Regions from separate parts of the Homo sapiens genome. Here all the other regions are linked to region 2. Evidence: promoter capture Hi-C in 16 types of primary human blood cells and fetal thymus (Javierre and others, 2016). All regions are on one chromosome and are shown on one strand. Each heading gives the region's core, a stretch centred on a gene start or on the middle of the fragment in contact. The rest is flanking DNA. Distances are from core to core; before and after follow the strand shown. Region 1 overlaps AMBRA1 (autophagy and beclin 1 regulator 1). Region 2 holds the start of F2 (coagulation factor II, thrombin). Region 3 overlaps CSTPP1 (centriolar satellite-associated tubulin polyglutamylase complex regulator 1).

Evidence for each region. Contacts are between HindIII fragments. The CHiCAGO score rates a contact against its expected background, and 5 or more counts as called.
Region 1: a contact is called between a fragment that was not itself captured here and the fragment with the promoter of F2 in region 2, in 1 of 17 cell types (M1 macrophages). The highest score is 5.3, in M1 macrophages.
Region 3: a fragment that was not itself captured here is called in contact with the fragment with the promoter of F2 in region 2 in 1 of 17 cell types (M1 macrophages); the score reaches 7.6 in M1 macrophages.

What each region holds. Positions count from the first base shown.
Region 1 is chr11:46,429,222-46,432,823 of GRCh38, reverse strand. The region is part of intron 14 of AMBRA1 (autophagy and beclin 1 regulator 1); the gene reads left to right. It also overlaps the pseudogene RPS10P19. Among named protein-coding and RNA genes, the nearest start is that of MIR3160-2, 21 kb to the left of the region's middle. The HindIII fragment of the contact is 2,096 bases long and covers 875-2,970 here.
Region 2 is chr11:46,716,710-46,720,710 of GRCh38, reverse strand. F2 (coagulation factor II, thrombin) reads right to left here and starts at 1,498. Exons shown (of 14, transcript NM_000506.5): 1 at 1,397-1,498; 2 at 849-1,009; 3 at 164-188. The coding sequence starts at 1,475. The HindIII fragment of the contact is 4,700 bases long and covers 1-4,001 here.
Region 3 is chr11:47,140,765-47,144,796 of GRCh38, reverse strand. All of the region lies in intron 4 of CSTPP1 (centriolar satellite-associated tubulin polyglutamylase complex regulator 1), which reads right to left. Among named protein-coding and RNA genes, the nearest start is that of ARFGAP2, 34 kb to the left of the region's middle. The HindIII fragment of the contact is 614 bases long and covers 1,079-1,692 here.

The sequences.
Region 1 (3,602 bases), core at 673-3,172, 290 kb after region 2:
CAAGGGGATTCAAGCATTTGAACAGTTCTCTAATTAGATAGTATTCAAGCTTTGTCAGAATCCAAGAACCTGTGAATTTCCTTAGTACTTTGTGCAATCTGTACCATTTATAGTTGGATGTACTTGTTGGTCCATTTTTTGTCTTCTTTAGCTGTGTAGCGTATGTGTTTAATCCACCCAATTCGGTTCAGTGTAAGCTCCTTAGAGGGATATCCCTCAGGTCCCTCATTTAGTGCTGTGCATGTAGATGGCTGTTGAATATCTGGAATGGGAAGCATTTGTTTTAAATAAAAAAACTAGAGATAGCACCCATTATATACAAAGTGATAGAAAGTGGGTGGCCTGGTGTGGTCCTTTCCTCTCCAGCCTCTTCTCCCTCCTGTCTCCTACAGATATCCTCTGTCCAACTACACTGAGCCACTTTTCAAGCTTCTTGAATTTGTCAAAGTGCCTTCTTGCCAGGGTACCTTTACTTGGAATGCCCTCCTGTCCCCTATCTCCAGCTACCTGCAAGCTTTTTACTTTCTGTGGCATCCATCTTAATAGAATTGATCACTCGTTCCTTGTGCTATCATTGTACCTCTTACACATTCTCATGTCAGTACTTGTCACACCAAACTGCAGTTATTTGTTTCCATGTCACTCTCTTCTCCTGGGCTGTGAGCTCCTTGAGAATAGAGACTGTGTCTGTTTTATCTTTATGAAGTCCAAGAACTTCATGCGGAACCTGACACTTAGTAGAAAGTGAATGAATGAATGAAAGAGAATCTCAAAAAAAAATAAATAAATAAAAATAAAGCATCCTCTTTATCATTTCTAGGTGGTAACTAGCAGAACCAATGATGGGTAACATAACATCATGTCCCACCAAGCTTCTGAAAGGAAAACAAGTCATTCTGTCCTCTTGATATCACAATGACAAGAAAGTTCTGATCTTGAATTCCATATGGCTGGAAATATTTGACATTGGGTGAATAGGAGATGTCATTGTGGGATGTTCATCAAGTCTATTTTCTTATCTAGATATTTGAGGATGGAAGTTGAGTTTTCATTTAAATATTCTTCTTTTGCTTCTCTTAAGCAGAAGCTGGTCTCTGCTTTTCACCACCTGGAATCCCAGTCCCAACAGCTGCTCTTCTAACCCTTCCGGCCTAATTGTGGAATAATCGTTTAAATCATTAAGAGACAGAATCTGATGTTGGTAGCTCTGACAGACCTCTCTAGCTTCTTTCATAAGCCAGGGCTCTTGCCCAGCTCCTGCACACAGCCTGCCAGTTCTCCATCTTAGCACAGTTCCACTTTTCCATAGTAGCCAGAAACATCTGGCTGAAGACAAACAGTTACAAAGCAGAAGCCAAGGTGATGGGATCTGTTGTCACATATGGGGCTGGCAGCTCAAGGAATGTGGTTCTCTGCTGAGGAGATGTGGTAATCCAGTCAGCCCCTGGCTGTCCTGCCAAGGGTCTCAAGGCAGCTAGCCAGCAGCTGCATGCTTGGTGACTGGAGCTACTACTACTGCCAGGCTGCCTGGTGAACCTTTTTTGATTCTCAGTAGGTACCATCTGCCACCAAGCACTAAGAAAGGGAGCTGAAGTACCTAGAAAGTTCCCATTTGGGAAGTGTTCCTGTCACCCAAGAGACAGGATCAAGGCATCTCAACAAGGTTTAGGTCAACCAAGTGTCCACCCAGTCTGACTTTAAACCCCCATGCTACAGAAAGGTTTCTGGTTTTCCAGGTCTTGGTTGCCCCTTACGTCCAAAGGCACCAGATCACTCAGCAAATGTCCCTGAATTCAGTGATTGGTGGAAGGGAAGACACCAGCTTTTTTGGATAGCTGTGCTGTATCACCGTTTAAGGCAAGAAGTGAATTTTTGTCTGAGAACAGGGAGCAAGGGTTTAATGGGACAGTACAGCATCTCCCTCTTTGCACAGGTAAGTATAGGTGGGTGTCTCCATCTCTAATGTCAAGCTCTGACCATAAAGGAATGCTTTAGTGGGTAATGGGCCTGTCCTAGAGCTTTGCTACCCAGAATTCCCCTTCTGTCTGGTGTTACCTCTTGGAATTCACTGTGGTAATGTTCAGAGAGGCAAATGTGTTGGGCCAACAGACATTCCCAGGAGAACATCCTCCAGAGCATTGATTTATTTTAAGATGGCACTAAGTGACATCTCTCCCCAAGAGATGATCTCTGACACAATCCCATATGAAAACTCTTCTGAAAATGAATTGCTAATTGCTATTAGCCTTGATGCACTTACTCTAAGCAGTTCTTCAGACTTCTGGATCAGTGCTTCTCAAACTGTGGTTCTTGGACAACTTACAGTAGAACTACATGGGTCCTTATTAAAATACAGATCCATTTCAGACCTAAAATCAGAATAAGAATGGGAGTCAGAGGGACCCAGGATTAGTATTTTTAAAACAAGATTTCTTCATTTTAGGTGTCTGCCCTCAGCCTCCTCAGCAAGGCAGAGTCAGTCTCAGGTCTACTTGCCATTGTGGTTTTGTGCATGGTGCTTTGATTCTTTGCTAATTATGTTGCAGGCACAGTGGTGTTTGTCTTCTGTTTCCTACCAAACTCAGCTTTTTTGGCTGTCTGCGCCTCACCTCCCATCTTTTCTAGGCTGTTGCTGCTTTCCAGGTTTCTCCCTTGAATAGCTGTATGTGCTGGAGTCTTTTCTTTATGTTGAATCATTTTAATTTTTGTCCTTATTTCTAGGATCTAGGGTCCTTTTGATCTTTCCCTTCTCTGTTTATCGTGCTAGTCCTCCCAGTTTTAATGATGGGTAAGTCAGGAAAGTAAGACTGGGCACATATTTTCTCTCTCCCTTCCCACTGTCCATTTGCGATTCCTCCAGACTGGATATGCTACTCTCTATGACTCAGAATCTTATTTTCTGTCTGATTCCCTTCTGCTTGAGCCAGAGAGGGCTTTTTGTTAATTTTTGTTTTGTTTTTAGGTTAAGCTTTTAGAGACTGCTGAGCTGAAGTTTTGCTGAATTCTCAAAACACTAAACTGCCTGTGTTCCCTCTCGGCTTTCATTTTCTAATTGGAACCAGGCACAGTATTGTAACAGAGAACTGCAATTAATTTTCTAAAATAGTGGCAACTTGCACAGTATAATAACTTTGGTTGTAACCAAGTGAAAGCATAATAACAAAAATACAAAATTACTGATGAAACCAGAAAGAGTCATATACCACATTCTTCCTTTAGTTTGTATCTCAGTAAGTGCTGTGTTACTTAGGAATAGGGGCAGAAGCCTGCAACTGGGCAGGGAGGTTCAGGGACATGAGGACGAAGCTAGGGCATTTTGAGCTAGAAAGCAAGAATAAGGATTAGTGCTTTCAACACTGGAATTAACATGGACCACCCCCCCACCTCCCAATAAGTGGGGATTGTAGGCACATAAGTGGTTTAGTAAGAAGTGGAAAAGGTTTTTCTGTGGAGTTCGAGTTCCATCGGCTCCCATCCGGGCTATCCTGCCACCTTAGCGGCTGCTCCTCCCCAGGATGCGGGCAGGGGGCCTCTCTCCCACTCCCCACACACCGATTTCTGAGTAGCGATAGGGGCTGGAGGCTTATTTTATGGGGTAGGGG
Region 2 (4,001 bases), core at 249-2,748:
TGAGAAACAGAAAGATGGATGAACAGATGGGAGGGACCAAGGAAGGAGTGGGGAAGGGGTGGATGGGTGGATGGCTAGGTGCAGCAGAAGATTCTCTGGGTAGAATTCTCTCACTGGGGTCCCCAGGCCTCCCTTCCTGGGGCAAATCCTTCCCGGTGCTCACCTGTGTACTTGGCCCAGAACACATCCTGAAAAACAAGGGCTGGGAGTGAGGCTACGGCAGCTCCTGTTTTGTGTTGTTTTAGTAAATGTTATGTCTCCTCCTCACACTTTCCTTTACCCTGGTCACGCAGGGGGCAGGCTCTGGGGAGGTTTGTGGCAGAGTTTCCTACTTTTGTTTCCAAAAGGAGAAGAATATTTGAGGATAGGGGAGTTCCTCCAACACACACACCGAGACTGAAAGAGGCTGGGGGAGATGGGAGGAGAGGGGGCAGTGGGACCCTGGCAGAGCCCTACAGACAGGAAAGGCGACACAGAGCTCCAGGAACACTGAGTCTTGAGCCCGGGGGCTTGTGGTGGCCTCCCCAGAGTCCCACCCCTCAAGGGTGGTGTGGGAGTCTGCCGCTGAGGAGGCCATGTGGACACAGAGCTCCAGGGCAGGTGGATGTCTGAAGACTGTGGAGGCCTCCCCATGTCATGGAGCTGCACAGGGACACAGTCCAGGCACAGAGACCCCCAGGAAAGGCTGAGGCCGCTCCTCTTGCCAGCCCTGTGAGGAGGGGCTCAGAGTTGAAATGAGGCTGTGAGCAGCGAAGGGGCTGTGGCGTTCCTCGCTTGCTTCTCTGTGGAAGTGTCTAGAGTTGGGCCCGGTCTGAGGCCCCGGCACCGTCCGAGCAGCCCAGGCTCACCGTAGCCGTGGAGGACTCCAGAGCCTCGAAGGCCTCCTCGTAGCTGCACGTCTCCTCCACGCACTCTCGCTCCAGGTTGCCCTTGCGCACCTCCTCCAAGAAGGTGTTGGCTCGCCGGACCCGCTGGAGCAGCGACCGTGCTTGCTGAGGAGCCAGGAACACTGTAAGGCGGTGGGGGGGTCATGGGACAGCGGCCTCAGGAACAGGCAGTCTTGGCCATTCTGGGGGCATGAAGCAAGCCCACCCTCCCCTGCTGGCTTCTGAGAGAGGCTGTCTGGGCTGGTGGAAGTGCCTGGAAGGCTGCTAAATGTGGCCCCCTGTGCCCCTCCTACACTGCCCCTTGCCCCCAGCCTGCTCCCTATATTGGAAGAGAGAAGCAGCCATTCTCTTTCCAGCCCTGAGCTCCTGACTTCTTCCCTAAGCTGGCCGCCTGGGGCTGAGACCTACTTAGGGGCCAGCTCTGTGTGCTCTGTCCAGCCAGGAGACCCCAGCCCATGGGCCCACACCCCAGTCCTCCAGCCTGTTCCAGCCTGCAAGCACTCCCTTACCATGCTGGCTGTGCACAAGGCTACACAGGGCAGCCAGGGCCAGGCAGCCAGGCAGCTGCAAGCCTCGGACGTGCGCCATAGTGTGTCAGCTCCTGGGTCACTGAGGAATTGTCTGTCCTGACCCCTCTGGGTTAATGTTGAACTAACATGAAGAAATCAGCGGAGAGGGTGAGGTCAGAGGGTCAGGGCCGTGGGGACGGGTGGGTAGATAGTCCTCCTGTCCATCTCCACCATCTGGGAGGACAGGTCCTCCTGGGAGCAGGGATGGATGGTCTAGGAGGAGTCACAAAAAAGGTCACTGTCACCCCCATCTCCCACCCTCCCCCTCTGAGATTTAGCCCATTCTGGCCAGTGGGGCTATGAGACTTTCCTGGAGCTCCTTCGAATCCTAACATATAGCGGTGGTTGCTTGTCATCTCTGTGTGCCTCAGTTTCCTCATCTATACAATGGGAATAATACTTTGTTGTGAGGACTAAAGGAGATTAGGAATGGAATGTCCATGGAATATCGTAAGTTCTTAATCAGATCTGCACATATAGGCCAATGTGGGGGTTTGTATAATCATAATACACAGATATCAAAAATAGAGACAAAGATAAAAGGTGTGGCCTGATGGAAGTTGCCCCTCGCCATGGGATGCACCAGGGATAGGAACAGCCAACATTTGCCCCAGCTTCTCAGCCACTGGAGGAGGGGCCCATTTCTCCTCCTTCCTGTCCAGGGTGCCTGGAGGTGTGTTTGTGTGTGGCAGCTGCCTGGGAGGAGTCAGGTCCAGGGACTCTTGGGCCTTTAGTCTATCTTCTGTCACCTCCCAGGACCTGCGCCTGTCCCGGAACAGGGGCTACTGAAATCCCTGGGTCTCCACTGAGGGGCCCTCCTTCTCCCTGGCTGCCTGCCCCATGGCAGGCCTAGAGAGGCTTCTGGTCCTACCCTACCCTCCGCCCTACTCCTGTCCCTCCCCCATTTCCTGTTTGCAGTACCCAAGGCAAATATTAGTCTAAGTAGGACAGAGGGACAAAGAGCAGGAACACGGGGAGGCACAAGTTCTCGCCTCGCCTCACCTGTCCTTTGGGCCTGGCTGTTTGGGGTCTGGACCAGGTCATGTGTGGGAACAGGGAGTGTTGGCAGAAAAACTGGGGACCAGGACTCCCGCAAACACCTTAATTCCTGGGAGGCCCATTTCTTATATATTTTCATATATATATTTTTAGGCCAGGCATAGTGGCTCACACTTGTAATCCCAACACTTTGGGAGGCCGACATGGCAGGATCGCTTGAGGCCAGGAGTTTGAGACCAGCCTGGGCAACATAGCAAGACCCTCATCTCTACCAAAAAAAAATTAAAAATTAGCTGGGAATGGTGGTGCATGCCTGCAGTCTGAGCTACTGAGGAGGCTGAGGCAGGAGGATCACTTGAGCCCAGGAGTTCCAGGCTGCAGTGAGCTATGATTGCACCACTGTACTCCAGCCTGGGTAACAGAGTAAGATCCTGTTTCTTTCTTTCTTTCTTTCTTTCTTTTTTTTTTTTTTTTTTGAGACGGAGTCTCGCCCTGTCACCCAGGCTGGAGTGCAGTGGAACAATCTCGGCTCACTGCAATTTCCATCTCCCTGTTCAAGTGATTCTCCTGACTCAGTATCCCAAGTAGCTGGAATTACAGGCGTGTGCCACCACACCTGGCTAATTTTTGTATTTTTAGTAGAGATGGGGTTTCGCCACATTGACCAGGATGGTCTCGAACTCCTGACCTCAGGTGATCCGCCCACCTCCACCTCGGCCTCCCAAGTGCTGGGATTACAGGCGTGAGCCACCATGCCTGGCCTGAATGAGACCTGTTCCTAGAAAAATAAAATAAAATAAAATAAAATTGAATAAATAAAATAAAATTATAATATATATTTTGGGTTTTTGTTGTTTTGTTTTTGAGATGGAGGCTGGAGTGCAATAGCGTGAACTCGGCTCACTGCAACCTCTACCTCCTAGGTTCAAGCGATTCTCCTGCCTCAGCCTCCCGAATAGCTGGAACTACAGGCACCCGCCATCATGCCTGGCTAATTTTTGTATTTTTGTAGAGACAGAGTTTCACCATGTTGCCCAGGCTGGACGTGAACTCCTGACCTCAGGTGATCTGCCCACTTTAGCCTCCCAAAGTGGGGATTACAGGCGTGAACCACTGCTACCTACCTGTTGGGTTTTTTTGTTTGTTTTTGTTTTGTTTTGTTTTGTTTTTTTGAGATGGAGTCTCACTCTGTCACCCAGAAAGGAGTGCAGTGGCGTGATCTCAGCTCACTGCAACCTCGGCCTCCTGAGTACAAGTGATTCTCCTGCCTCAGCCTCCCAAGTAGCTCCCAAGTGCATGCTAGGGATTACAAGCATGCACTACCACGCCCAGCTAATTTTGTATTTTTAGTAGAGATGGGGTTTCACCATGTTGGTCAGGCTGGTCTCGAACTGCTGACCTCAGGTGATCCACCTGCCTCGGCCCCCCAAAGTGCTGGGATTACAGGTATGAGCCACTGCCCGGCCTCTTTGCAGACTTTTACTCACAGTTGCAGGCCTGTTCAGTATATGACATTCTTATACCCAGAAATGGCTATCTTAGCCTG
Region 3 (4,032 bases), core at 136-2,635, 420 kb before region 2:
TGAGAACCAGTGCTTTAAATCTTCACCCTTGGAGCAGAGCTTCCCAACCCTTTGTCACTTCGGCCTCAAATGACTTACAGATGTGATGGTCCCCTTGGCCCAGCTGGGAGGAGGCCAGAGCCTGCAGGCCAATCACAAGAAGTCTTGTCTTTACTGGAGATTTTTGTTATATATTATTTTCTGATTGCTGTGAAGTGCAAAAAGGCCAGGAAGCATTGCCTTTGGAAACCCAGGAACATCTCATTTTTCTTTTAATCTGGTACTATTAATAATACCAACATAATTGTAACAGCAAGAAATTACTACTGGCCAGGCGTGGTGGCTCATGCCTGTAATCCCAGTATTTTGGGAGGCTGAGGTAGGCAGATCGCTTGAGGTCAGGAGTTCGAGACCAGCCTGGCCAACATGGTGAAACCCCGTCTCTACTACAAATACAAAAAATTAGCAAGGCGTGGTGGCGGGCATCTATAATCCTAGCTACTTGGGAGGCTGAGGCACAAGAATCACTTGAACCCAGGAGGCGGAGGTTGCAGCGAGCTAAGATCACGCCACTGCACTCCAGCCTGGGCAACAGAGCAAGACTTCATCTAAAAAAAAAATTATTACTGATTTAATGTCTACAATGTGGTAAGCAGTGTTCATGGTTTTGTTGGTGTTACTGAAATCTTACAAACACCCTATGAGTTAGTTACTATTATTATTATCATCCCCATTTTACAGATATAAAAACAGGGCTCAGAGAAGTTAAGAGATATCCTCAAGGTCATCCAGTTAATGGGGCACAGGTGGGATGTACAGTAGATCTTTCTAATGCCATGGGGCCTGTGTTCTTCTAGGTCAAGGTTAATATTACCATTTCTAACGATTATGACAAGTTTACTCTGTGCCAGCCACCATTTTAAGCACATCATATACTTCTCCTTCAATCATTACAACTATTATTATTCCCATTTTACAAGTGAGGAAACAGGCTCAAATTAAATACCTTTCTCAAGGGCACAGCTAGTATATTGTGGAACCAGGATTTGAACTCAAGAAGTCTGGTTCCAACTGCATGCTCTTAACCATCCAGAAAGCTTCCAGTCCATGGAGGATGGGGAGTGGGAGATGCTGTGGTGATCATCTGGGGATAAAAGAACTACTCCAGTTGCTGCAGGAATATGTGAGGTGGAGGGGATCTCTGGCTTGGCTGCTGTCATGGAGTCTGTTTGCTTTTTCTTTTCCTGTTTTTCCAGCTCACACCTGCTGCCCCAGGGCCTGGCCATGATGCTTGTAGCACATAAGGCAGGCGCATGTGGAGACACCATGCCCCTGAACAGGCTCCGGCTTCCAGCTGCATGTGGATTACATTCTTTTACGCACACATCATCACAGACTGGAGCCTGCTTCTGCAGCCTGTCCCCAGACTTCAGTGTCCTGAATAAAGTAAGCCTGGCAGTGAAATGGGAGAGGGCAGTTCCTCTTCTAGCAATAGTAACTGCCTTGAAGTCTCTACCACCTCCATTTGCAGTTCTGATCAGATGCATAGGTATGTGTGTGGGGAAGCTGGGACCCTGATCTTCAGGACAAAATGAGAATAGTTTACAAAATCAGGGGATGCTTTCTGGGATACATACAATTTTTCTACATATGCACCAGCTGCAGTACAGTGGGGAAAGCATGGCATTGGGAGGAGAAGTTGACACAGAAGCTTGATGCTCATACTCGGGGAGAAAACAAACTTATCCTAATTCTGAATTCATCTCTAACTGCAGCCAGTGCCATGTGGGTTACCCTTGGCCCTTCTGTTGTTACTGCCATTCCCATAATTCCCTCAGACTGCTATTGATATGGACTGGCTACGATGCTTCCTCCTGCTCAGACAGAAAGGTCTGAGGTGTCTGTCAAACAGCAGGCCTCTAGGTGAGGAGTGGGTAAGTTTCCAGCCGCAAATAGAGGAATACCATTCCAGAAGCCCCTTGGTATCAATAACTGTACAATTCTACCTTGGTATCGAGAATTTTTGGTTCTTACAGGATTCTACCACCTACACTCAAATCTTGTGGTGCTTTCATGTATCAGATTGTTTGGAAGGGTCTGAGGAGACAGCTGGGGCAAATGCAAAGCTGTGGCTGCGGGGGGCTAAGATGCATTTTGAAGCCTCACTCTCATAAGCTCCCTCACATCATGGGAAAGGGAAAAGAGGTCAGTATTCTGGAGTGATTGATCAAAACCAAGGTCATACGTCACAGAGTGGTGGCAGCCAATGACCAGTACCTAAGCAGTCCCCTTCTATATCAAGTTCTTTGAGGGGCAGGAACTATATCTTATTCATGACTGTATCCCCATTTGCAGAATAGCTCCCGGCACAAAATATGCACTCAAGAAACATTTGGCGAAATGAAGTACTGATACATACAGCAAGATGGATGAACCATGAAAACATTGTGCTATTAGGTTGGTGCAAAAGTAATTGCAGTCTTTGCCATTGAAAATAATGGCAAAACCACAATTACTTTTACACCAACCTAAAACATGAAACTAGTCACAAAAAAAACACTTTTTTTTTTTTTTTTGAGATGGAGTCTCACTCTGTCACCAGCCTGGAGTGCAGTGGCGCGATCTCGGCTCACTGCAACCTCTGCCTCCTGGGTTCAAGCGATTTTCCTGCCTCAGGCTCCCAAGTAGCTGGGACTACTGGCGTGCATCACCACGCCCAGCTAATTTTTGTATTTTTAGTAGAGATGGGGTTTCACCATGTTGACCAGGATGGTCTCGATCTCTTGACCTCGTGATCCACCCACCTTGGCCTCCCAAACTGCTGGGATTACAGGCGTAAGCCACTGCACCTGGTCGTGGTTTTTTTTTTTTTTTTTTTTTTTTTTGAGACAGAGTCTAGCTCTGTTGCCCAGGCTGGAGTGCAGCAGCATGATCTCGGCTCACTGCAACCTCCACCTCCCGGGTTCAAGTGATTCTCCTGCCTTAGCCTCCTGAGTAGCTGGGATTATAGATGTGCACCACCATGCCCAGCTAAGTTTTGTATTTTTAGTAGAGACAGGTTTCACCATGTTGGCCAGGCTGGGTTTGAACTCCTGACCTCAAATGATCCTCCTGCTTCAGCCTTCCAAAGTGCTGGGATTACAGGCGTGAGCCACTATGCCTGGCCAAGACCACATATACAATTCTACTTATTTGATTTTTTTTTTTTTTAAAGACAGAGTCTCACTCAGTTGCCCAGGCTGGAGTGCAGTGGCACAATCTCAGCTTACTACAACCTCTGCCCCCCAGGCTCAAGCAATTCTCCCACCTCAGCCTCCCAAGTAATTGGGACCACAGACGCACACCACCACGCCTGGCTAAGTTTTTGTATTTTTGTTAGAGATGGGGTTTCACCATGTTGAGCAATCCTCCCCACTTAGCCTCCCCAAGTGTTGGGATTACAGGCATGAGCCACTGTGCCTGGCCTCAATTCTACTTATTTGAAATGCCCAGTGGATAAATCTACAGAGCCAGAAAGTAGATTAGGGGTTGCCTAGGGTTGGGGAAGACGGTGGAGTGGGGACTGAAGAGTAATGGCTAAGGGGTGTAGGATTTCTTTTTAGGGTAATGAAAACATTCTACAATGGACTGTGGTAATGGATGCACAACTCTGGAAATATATTAAAAGCAATTGAATTTTATACTTTAAATGAGTGAAGTGTATGGTATGTGAATTGTATCCCAAAAAGCTGTTAAAAAGAAACATTTGATGAATAAACAAATGAACAAATGAATATAGGATATAGTTGTTGCAGGTTCACACCATTCTCCTGCCTCAGCCTCCTGAGTAGCTGGTACTACAGGCACCCGCCAACACGCCCGGCTAATTTTTTTGTATTTTTAGTAGAGATGGGGTTTCACCATGATAGCCAGGATGGTCTCCATCTCCTGACCTCGTGATCCGCCTGCCTTGGCCTCCCAAAGTGCTGGGATTACAGGCGTGAGCCACCGTGCCCGGCCTTAAGTTCGGTCTTTAAGGATGCTGAGTTTATCTCCCCAGATTTTGGGGCTGAA